Linked DNA regions of Homo sapiens: all the other regions are linked to region 1. Evidence: promoter capture Hi-C in 16 types of primary human blood cells and fetal thymus (Javierre and others, 2016). All regions are on one chromosome and are shown on one strand. Each heading gives the region's core, a stretch centred on a gene start or on the middle of the fragment in contact. The rest is flanking DNA. Distances are from core to core; before and after follow the strand shown. Region 1 holds the start of SND1 (staphylococcal nuclease and tudor domain containing 1). Region 2 holds the start of AKR1B1 (aldo-keto reductase family 1 member B). Region 3 holds the start of SLC35B4 (solute carrier family 35 member B4).

Evidence for each region. Contacts are between HindIII fragments. The CHiCAGO score rates a contact against its expected background, and 5 or more counts as called.
Region 2: a contact is called between the fragment with the promoter of AKR1B1 here and the fragment with the promoter of SND1 in region 1, in 1 of 17 cell types (total B cells). The highest score is 8.0, in total B cells.
Region 3: a contact is called between the fragment with the promoter of SLC35B4 here and the fragment with the promoter of SND1 in region 1, in 1 of 17 cell types (non-activated CD4 T cells). The highest score is 6.7, in non-activated CD4 T cells.

Annotation. Positions count from the first base shown.
Region 1 is chr7:127,650,714-127,653,588 of GRCh38, forward strand. SND1 (staphylococcal nuclease and tudor domain containing 1) reads left to right here and starts at 1,481. Exons shown (of 24, transcript NM_014390.4): 1 at 1,481-1,738. The coding sequence starts at 1,661. It overlaps SND1-DT (SND1 divergent transcript), which reads right to left and starts at 1,119. Exons shown (of 2, transcript NR_186577.1): 1 at 960-1,119. RefSeq lists a silencer at 1,030-1,279 and enhancers at 1,077-1,695, 1,520-1,699. The HindIII fragment of the contact is 9,151 bases long and covers 1-2,875 here.
Region 2 is chr7:134,457,602-134,460,476 of GRCh38, forward strand. AKR1B1 (aldo-keto reductase family 1 member B) reads right to left here and starts at 1,499. Exons shown (of 10, transcript NM_001628.4): 1 at 1,396-1,499. The coding sequence starts at 1,461. RefSeq lists a silencer at 1,109-1,298. The HindIII fragment of the contact is 6,251 bases long and covers 1-2,875 here.
Region 3 is chr7:134,315,542-134,318,416 of GRCh38, forward strand. It overlaps SLC35B4 (solute carrier family 35 member B4), which reads right to left and starts at 1,389. Exons shown (of 10, transcript NM_032826.5): 1 at 1,134-1,389. The coding sequence starts at 1,210. RefSeq lists a silencer at 930-1,099 and an enhancer at 1,180-1,909. The HindIII fragment of the contact is 10,331 bases long and covers 1-2,875 here.

The sequences.
Region 1 (2,875 bases), core at 231-2,730:
GGTTTTTTTTTTTTTTTTTTTTTTTTTTGGAAAAGGGTGGCAAATTAGGGATCTAAGAAGGTGACCTCAAAACTTAACCCTGGGATATGTTTAGTGTGGGAGAATAAACTTACAATCTTTTAAGAGAGCAAGGGGCCATGCACTGTGGTTAATGCATGTAATACCAGCACTTTAGGAGGCCGAGGTAGGAGTATAGCTTGAGCCCAGGAGACCAGCCTGGGCAACATAGTGAAATCTCAGCTCTACAAAAAAAAAATTAGCTGGGCGTGGTAGCGCGGACCCGTGGTACCAGCTCCAGCTACACCGGAGACTGAGGCAGGAGGATCGCTTGAGCCTGGGAGTGTCAAGGCTGCAGTGAGCCGTGATCGTGCCCCCGCACTCCAGCCTGAGCGACAGAGCGAGACTTTGTCTCAAAAAAGCCACAAAACCAAAGAAACAAAAAGAACTGCAAGGGAAGTACTGTCTTCAGTGTAGAGCCAAGTTTTACGATTAAATGACATAACACATGCAAGGTCCTTGGTTCCACATAGTGGGCACTCAACGAATATTAGTTCTCGCTAAACAGTCACTTAAATATTTGTAGGCCTTGGCTTTCCCGTTCCTTCCCCGACCTTTTTACTGGGGCTAGGGAAGGTATCCGGTGGCTGGAGGCGCTTCACACTGGGTCGGGTGAGAGCGTGAAGCGAGCCTTTTCCCTAACGTCACGGGAGCAGCTGGGAAGAGACCGAAGAACGAGGGTCACTCTCCCCTGTATACGTGGCATGTCCTTCCTCTGAGACATTTATTCCTCCCACCAACAAACATTAATGGAACGCCTCACAAGTGCTAGACCCCAGCGACACAAACAAGGGCGAGGCACACTCTCTGACTACAAAAAGGGCGCGCGGCCGCGTGGCAGGTCAAAGCCCACATCGGTAGGAGGTTCCACAAAGCTCTGATTTTCCAAGTTCTCTCCATACTTTTAGCCAAGGTAAAATGTCGGAAGTCGAGTGGAGCGGGTACGGAGATTCCTCCAGGACTCTGCCTGCGTGGCTCCACCCTCCCAGGCCGCATTCCCGGGTACAGCGGCGCCCACCTAGGTGGGTATACAAGTGTGCGCCCCTGAGGCCAGCGGGGAAGGACGTCATGGGCGAGGTCAGGCGGGAGGGCGCGGCTGGCTCCGCCCCTGGGGCTCCCATGGCCCCCCGCGCCCCGCGGCCAGATGCTGACGTGTCCTTTCCTTCCCACTACACCTCCCGACATTACCTACTCCGGCTGCCCCGGAAGTCCCGCCCCATATTTAGCCCATCCTTGCAAATCAACTCTTTCAGCGCTTCCTGGAACTCACCACCGTTTTGGGGACCAAGAGGCGGGGCTCCGCGAGCAGGGTGCCTATTGGCCTGAGGGCCGGCGGGCTCTGGGCGCTAATTGGGCGGAGGGCGGTGGCGCTCTGGCACGCTTGCGCGGCGAGTAGAACGTGTGGCGGCGGCGGAGATCGCGTCTCTTTCGCTCCGTGTCCCGCTGCTGCTCCTGTGAGCGCCCGGCGAGTCCGTCCCGTCCACCGTCCGCAGCTGGTAGCCAGCCTGCCCCTCGCCTCGACTCCCTTTCACCAACACCGACACCCACATTGACACCTCCAGTCCGGCCAGCCGCTCCACTCGTTGCCTTTGCATCTCCACACATGGCGTCCTCCGCGCAGAGCGGCGGCTCCTCCGGGGGACCCGCGGTCCCCACCGTGCAGCGGGGCATCATCAAGATGGTGAGAACGGGCCCCGGACACCGACCCCTCTGCCTGCCTTCGGGCGGGAGTCAGGCATTGACTCCACCTTCCGCCAGCCTGCTCCATGTCCCAGATCCCCTTTCCTCTGCCCCCTTCCTCACTTTTCGTCGATTCTCCGAATCCTCTCACTAGACGGAAGCAGACACGGAGTCCCCTTGTTCCTTGCCTCCCGGACACCTTGACATCAGGGGTCACAGTGATTTCCGAGGTTGCGGCATTCGGATCTCCTGTCTGTTTACCAGGACAGATCGATTACTGATTGATTAACAGAGACAATTCGTTGATATCTGTCCTCCCATCCCCCGTCTTTCTGTTCATTTTGACATATGCTGAGTAGTTAGTAGTTTTTCGAGATCCTGACATCGGCTCTTCTCTACTAGTACTTGGCCATCATGAAACTTTTCTGTTCCCACAAACGCTGTTACTTGACTCCCAAGTTTTCTCACTCTGTGGCCCTCTTTTCCTCTCTTTCCCTCCACCTCTTGTGTCGACCTGAAAGCTCCTGATCTTTGTGTACTTTTGACTTCTAAAAGGTTAGGCCGGCAAGAATCTTAGTAATCATCATTGTTCTCCCGTCCCTTAAAGATAAGGAGATAGGCTTGAAGAAGGCAAGTGACTTGCTTAAGGTCACATGGTGGTTTGGGTTGGAGCCATAGCAAGAGCCCAAGTGTTCGGATTCCTGGTCTAGTGCTCATAGCACTATAGATTCTGCCTGATTTTATATACCCTCAACTTTTTGAAAATTCTTCAATTTTGAATTTGAACCTGCAAAGTTTATTTTTACAATTTACTCCTAGCTCCATGATAATTTGATAATATAAATTCAGTTTATCACTTGCCCCCAGTTGTCCTCCCCAAAACCCTTCCAAATCTTGGAACCTGACATTTCTTGGTTTTACCAATTTTCTGGTTTATGATGACTGTAAACTTCTAGATGTCGTTTCATACTGCAGTTCTGACATTTGTATCTGCAACAGCAAATATCTTTTGTGATACTTTCTCCCAAGGCTCCACAAGTTTTGCTGTTGTAGAAAGTTTTGAAAAATTCTATTTTAGGCCTGGTGCGGTGGCTCATGGTGGTAATCCCAGCACTTAGGAGGCCGAGGTGGGAGGATT
Region 2 (2,875 bases), core at 249-2,748, 6.8 Mb after region 1:
CTTCTGTCCTATTTCAAACATCTCACAGTTCACTCAGTTCTTTCTGTTGTTTTCTTCCCTTGTCTGTGTGTAAATATCCAACGCCCAGGCCCATATTCAAATTTTAAGAGAAAAACCTGGGACGTGGGCCTGCCAGATGGTTCACACCTGTAGCTTTGGGAGGCGAGGTGGGAGGAGCGCTTTGAGCCCAGGAATTGGAGATCACCCTAAGCAACAAGCGGAGACTGTCTCTGCGGGGAAGAAAAAAGATTAGCCAGGTGTGGTGGTGAGCGCCTGTAGTCCCAGCTACCCGCAGTGCTGAGGCAGGAGGATCACTTGAGCCCAGGAGTTCCAGGCTGCAATGAACCATGATTGTGCCACTGCACCCCAGCTTGGGCAACGAGACCCTGTCACAAACAAACAAGCAAACAACAAAAACAGAAACTGAGAAACCCAGGTTATGGCTGTGGAATATAATATGCAATACTTAGAAGGTTAAAAATTCTAGGTTTTGCCTCAGCTCCCATACCACCACCTTTGTTGCTCAATTTTCAGATAATCAGGCTCAGGCTATTATTTTTGGTTTTTCATATCATATTATCATTTTTCATATCCTATGATGTTTCATGTCCTATTGTCATTCTCATCCGGCTAGGCACTTCTCGGGGACGCTGTGTGGTGTTGAGGTTTTACAGGGAAAATGCTAACCTTGGCGCCTCCTGAATTATCAACTAGCTACGGGGTGCCCAGATTTTTCTCCCGAGTTCCAGACCCAGGGCACCCCGAGGCGGCGCCTGGCCGAGGAGCTCCGCACTGCGCCTTGTTAACAGCTGGGTCCGGGCAAACTCGCGCCACCTAATTCTCTGCCCTCTACCGGCTTGAGATGCTTATTCCTCAGGGAGGGCAAGAATCGAAACGATTGAGACCAACTATTTACAAGTGAGGCAACCGGGCTACAGGTGCCTCGAGGGAAAGGAGGCTGGGTCTGCGCTCCCACACCTTGCCGACGGCTCCACGTCCCTGTCTGCGCCCGAGGTCCACCGGTCTGTGAAGCCCACTTTCCCCGCCTCCCTCTCGCGTTGTGCCGCTTGGGGCGCCCGCTAGGACCCAAAATGCGGACTGGTGGGCCGCCCATCAAGGGTTGCCCGCGGTAGGGCGGGGGCTCCCGTGAGCTGCTCCCAAACCCCACTCGCAGGATGCTGCCCTGACGCCCAGGGCCAACCCGGGGAGCCAAGGCCCCCGGTCTCTGCAAGGCCGACCCCAGCCCGCTGGGGACCCTGCAAGCCCGCGCGTGGCTCCCAGCACGCCGGGCGTCCGCGGGGCGAGCTGCTCAGGGTCACTCGGGGTCCCTCGCCAATACAGGCCGCGCGGAGAGTGTGAGGCGAGCCCCGGGCCCGCGCCCCCACGAGCACCTACCTTCCAGGTACCCAACCCCAGGATGGGCATCTTGGCGCCGTTGTTGAGCAGGAGACGGCTTGCCATGGCTGCTGCGCTCCCCAGACCCCCGCCCAGTACGGTGCGGCCTTGGCCGCGGCGCGTACCTTTAAATAGCCCGTGAGGTCGGCAGAAAGGGCGCCTGCGGTTGGCGCGCCGCTGCGCGAAGGAGCCTTCTGATTGGTTGCGCTGGGGGTGCCGCGGCGGCCTTCCCCAAGGGTCGGCGGGGATGCTTCTTCCGCCTGGTCCTAGTGGCAGCGGATTCTTTCCGCCCCCAACGCTCGCCCGCGCCCCGCGTGGCAGAAAGGAGTTCCTCAGCTGCTGTATCTGGTGGGAAAGCGAATGCTTTAGCGAAAATAACAGGCATCCCATAAATACATAGACTAGAAATAAGTTTTGGTTTCATTAAGAGCCCAGAAGAATGCCTTTGTTGTCCAACCCCAGTTTGATGCTCTTTGGGAATCTGACGAATACCTTGTCCTTAATCTATGTGAATCATACTGACTACACATATAGTTTACCGCACTTTGTTCTTAGACAAAGGTGCATGCCAGAAAAATGGCTTGCAATCCTTTTGCAAAGCACCTTCACAAAATATGGGTTTGCCCAGACTTTTTGTAGCCTTCTAGATCTCTCTTTGCACCCCACTCTAGGTGTTAGCTGTGTCTGTGCATACTAGGTGTGGTTCAGCAAGCCTTCCACCAAAAGCCAGCATCCTTTGATGTTCTTGAGGTTAGAAAGCCTTGATGGGCTTGATCCAGAACTCTCAGAAGAATTTGGAAAGTAAGGCTGTCCATTCAGAATCAGTAAGACAAATTTCATCAGTCTTTGGAAAGTGAGACTCTATCAAAGCAGTAAGTTCCAGTACAGTAACTTATCAAAACTCTCTAGAGGAAGAAAAGTGAACAGACAGAAAACCACAGAAGAAAAAGTTGACTCTAATATTGTAGCTTCCAGTATTTCAAATTAGAAGGTACAAAATAGTAAATTGATCACCCTAATTGGCAGGTAGAAACACACATTTTTCCAAGATAGCCTAAGAAAAGTCACTTGAAGATCCTTGAAGACAATTTTGGTTTCTTTCCAACAACCTCTCTTCATGATACTCTACCTCACCCCAACTGCTCTTTCTGCTCCATCACCCTCCGATCTTTCCCCTAATTATGCAAGATTGGGAACTCCATCTGCCTGGTAGTGACTCAAGCACCAGGTCTCTCTAAACTCCATGCCGGTGATTTTCCATTTGGTGCTTTCTTTAAAAGTGCTCCCTCCTGGAAAAATTTATACAGAACAGACTAGCCCAGATATTTTTCCATGTAACTTTTGTAAAAATTGTTGCTATTGGGCAAATTCATTTGTCCCCAAGTAATAGAATTTGAACTTGAGCCTAAAGCTGGGAACTTGCTTTGTGTAAAACAGCAAGTTCCTTCCTCCATGAGAGTCCTCTTGACTTGGAGGTTGC
Region 3 (2,875 bases), core at 139-2,638, 6.7 Mb after region 1:
TATGTGTATAAGGTGTATAAGAAACACAAATGAGTTTGTGTTTAGATTTGGGTACCATCCGTAAAATATCTCATTATGTATATGCAAATACTCCCAAATCCAAAAAAAAAACAAAAAACAAAAAACACCAAATAACACCCGTTCCCAAGCATTTCAAATGAAGGATACTCAACTTGTAATGTATAGATTCAGAAACACGAGCTAGAGAACACTATAGGTATTGTTTTACTGCCAGGAAAAGGAGCCCAAGAGAGGCTAAGTGACTTGAAGGGCTACACAGCCAGTGGACGACGGAGCCAAGAGTGAAATTCACAACCCAGCTTTTTAGTCCTGGAGGCTTTTCCACACCACCTGTTGTCTCTTCTGTTATAGCTTCTATCCACTGAACTTTGCACATTCAAAGTGACCTCAAAGAGCCCTCTCAGGTCACTTGGACCAATCTTCTACTTGCTTTTTTTTTTGTCTTTTTGCAAGCCACCTCAAAGAGCACTCTCGGGTCACGTGGACTGATCTTCTACATAAAAATCTGTTCTACCGCATCATTTATGTATGTTTGGGCAAAGTACTCATAACCATTTCCAAGGCCAATAAAGCAAATGCTTTGCAGGATGCCGTAATAAAAATAAAACTTTCTTTGCAGTATGTACAAAGTCAGACTGCTTTACAAGTCAAAAACCTTTGCTCAAGTCCAGCCTGTGCCATTTAACAGGATCGAAAAAAGAGCTAGAGTTGGATGGGAAGGAAGAGAGAGTGGTTTGGTGAAGGAACCTTGGTTCTGACACTAGCTCTCTGCCGACCTTGGACTGGTCATGTGAAAAACTCTTCAGACTTCAATACCCCCCGAGTGTGGAAAAGGGGTGACGACAGCAACACCCTGAGTCTTCCCCTCGCAGGAATGCTTTGAAACTGTTAGGCGGGACTGCCGCCGGTGCGCAGTTTTGGGAAGCAGCGGACTCAGCGGGGTCCCAGGCTGCCCAGACAGGACGGATTGCTGGGGGGCTCAGGCCGTCCTGCCCCGGGCTCCGTGGGCGGCGGGGTGGGGACAGGGCGTGGGCGCGTCCCGGGGGGACCTCTCCTCTGGCTTCCTCCGCCCCGCCCCGGGAGACCGGGTGCGGCCCGAGCGGGTCACTCACCGGGCCAGGAGCTCTAGGAAGATCACGTTACTGCAGCAGCCTGCGAACACCAGGCCCACCGCCAAGGCCGGGCGCATGGCCGGTGCAGGGTTGGGGAAGCAAGCGCACAGAGTAAGCGCCCGCCTGTACCGCTACCCCAGGAAGCCGGCCTCCTGCCTCTTCGCTGCGCAGCACATCGCACCGTCCTGGAAAGCCGCTCTCACTGGGGGCCGCCGCGGTCTCCCCTTCTCCCGCGGCCAACACCGACGCTGCCAAGAAGCTGTAGTTCGCAGTCAGCTTCGGTCCCATTCATCCGAGGGGGCGTCCGAGCCCCGGCCAGACTACATGTCCCAGGATGCCGTGCACCTTTACCTCAGGATGCGACGTTCCCGCTTCCGCCAGGCAGCTCCGCCAGAGAGGACAGGGGGACGAGGTGCCCGGCATGACTCGCGCGATAGGCGGCCGCGGGTCTTGCTGGGAAATGAAGTCCCAAAGCGTCAGTGTTTCTTGCGAGACCGCCCAGAGCGCTGAAAGTAACTCGGCCGCCAGGGTCACAACAAACTTGCTGGCAGCGGCGGCACTAGAACTACAGAGCTGTGACTGCTCGTTGGAGGTGTTCTAGCATCTGAAACAACTCTGCTTCCTGAACTGATATATATATATGTATCTTTGGTGACTCTATTATGCTGCCAGGATTAAGAACCACTGAGAATTCAAGTAAAGCAATGGCTCTCAACCACGTCTGTACATTGGAATCACTTGGAGAGCTTTAAAGATGACTGATAGCCAAGTCCCACCCCCAGCGATTCTGATTTAATTAGGCTGAGGTGCAGCCTTAAAGGTGATCTATTGATATTATCCCTAATCCTAGCTCTTTAAGGTACTCCCTTCCTTTACCTCCGTGGTTCTCAAACTTAGCTGCGCAGTCAAATCACCTGGGGGCTTTGAAAACTGCCAACGTCCAGGCTCTTCTACTGGCAAAAATGCCAATATCAGCAATCAGATCTTTAATGGTGAAAAGAAGGCATACTTCCCTCTTCTTACAGTGGAATTCTCATAGCACTTACAATCTGAGCCATTCGACTTGACTCTTACTTACTCAATGAACAAATGTTTGTTAAGCACATATTACGTACATAAGCTAGTGCGGCACTATTCTTTATTTGTAAAATAGGTATGCACACTTTATCCACCCAGCAAGACTAGTTTTTAAGGGAAACGTGTTTACACTTCCTTTCTGCTTCCCAGTGTCTACTATAAAAGGTTAGCATCACTGCTCAGTATTTTACCACATCAAATATTTCCGTTGTAATTGAATCCAACAGCAATAGCAAAGTACACGGTACAAAGCTAGGTAGGATTTTGGAATGCTATATTGTTTTTGCTATTTCCTGTGAGACACGAACATTCTGAAGTCTTTCTCGAGATCTACAAAATAGTTTGGAATGCTTTTTTCCCAGTCCGTGACTGGGAGATCACATTGGAATCATCTGAAGTACTCGTTATCGAGTGCAGATTATTGGGTCTCGCTTTAGACCTACCAAGTCAAAATCCTTGTGTATGGGTTCTAGAAACTTGTATTTTTAACAAGCACTCCACGTTCTAATTCTAATGCATTCTAGAATTTGAGAACTGCTGCCTTAAAAAGGTGAGTAGGAAGAAGAACTAACATAAATAGAAAGCCTACTACCTGTGAAATTCAGTATTTAATGAGCACCCGTCTTGAGTTTGCACAGTGCTGGCACATTAAACAATGAATTATA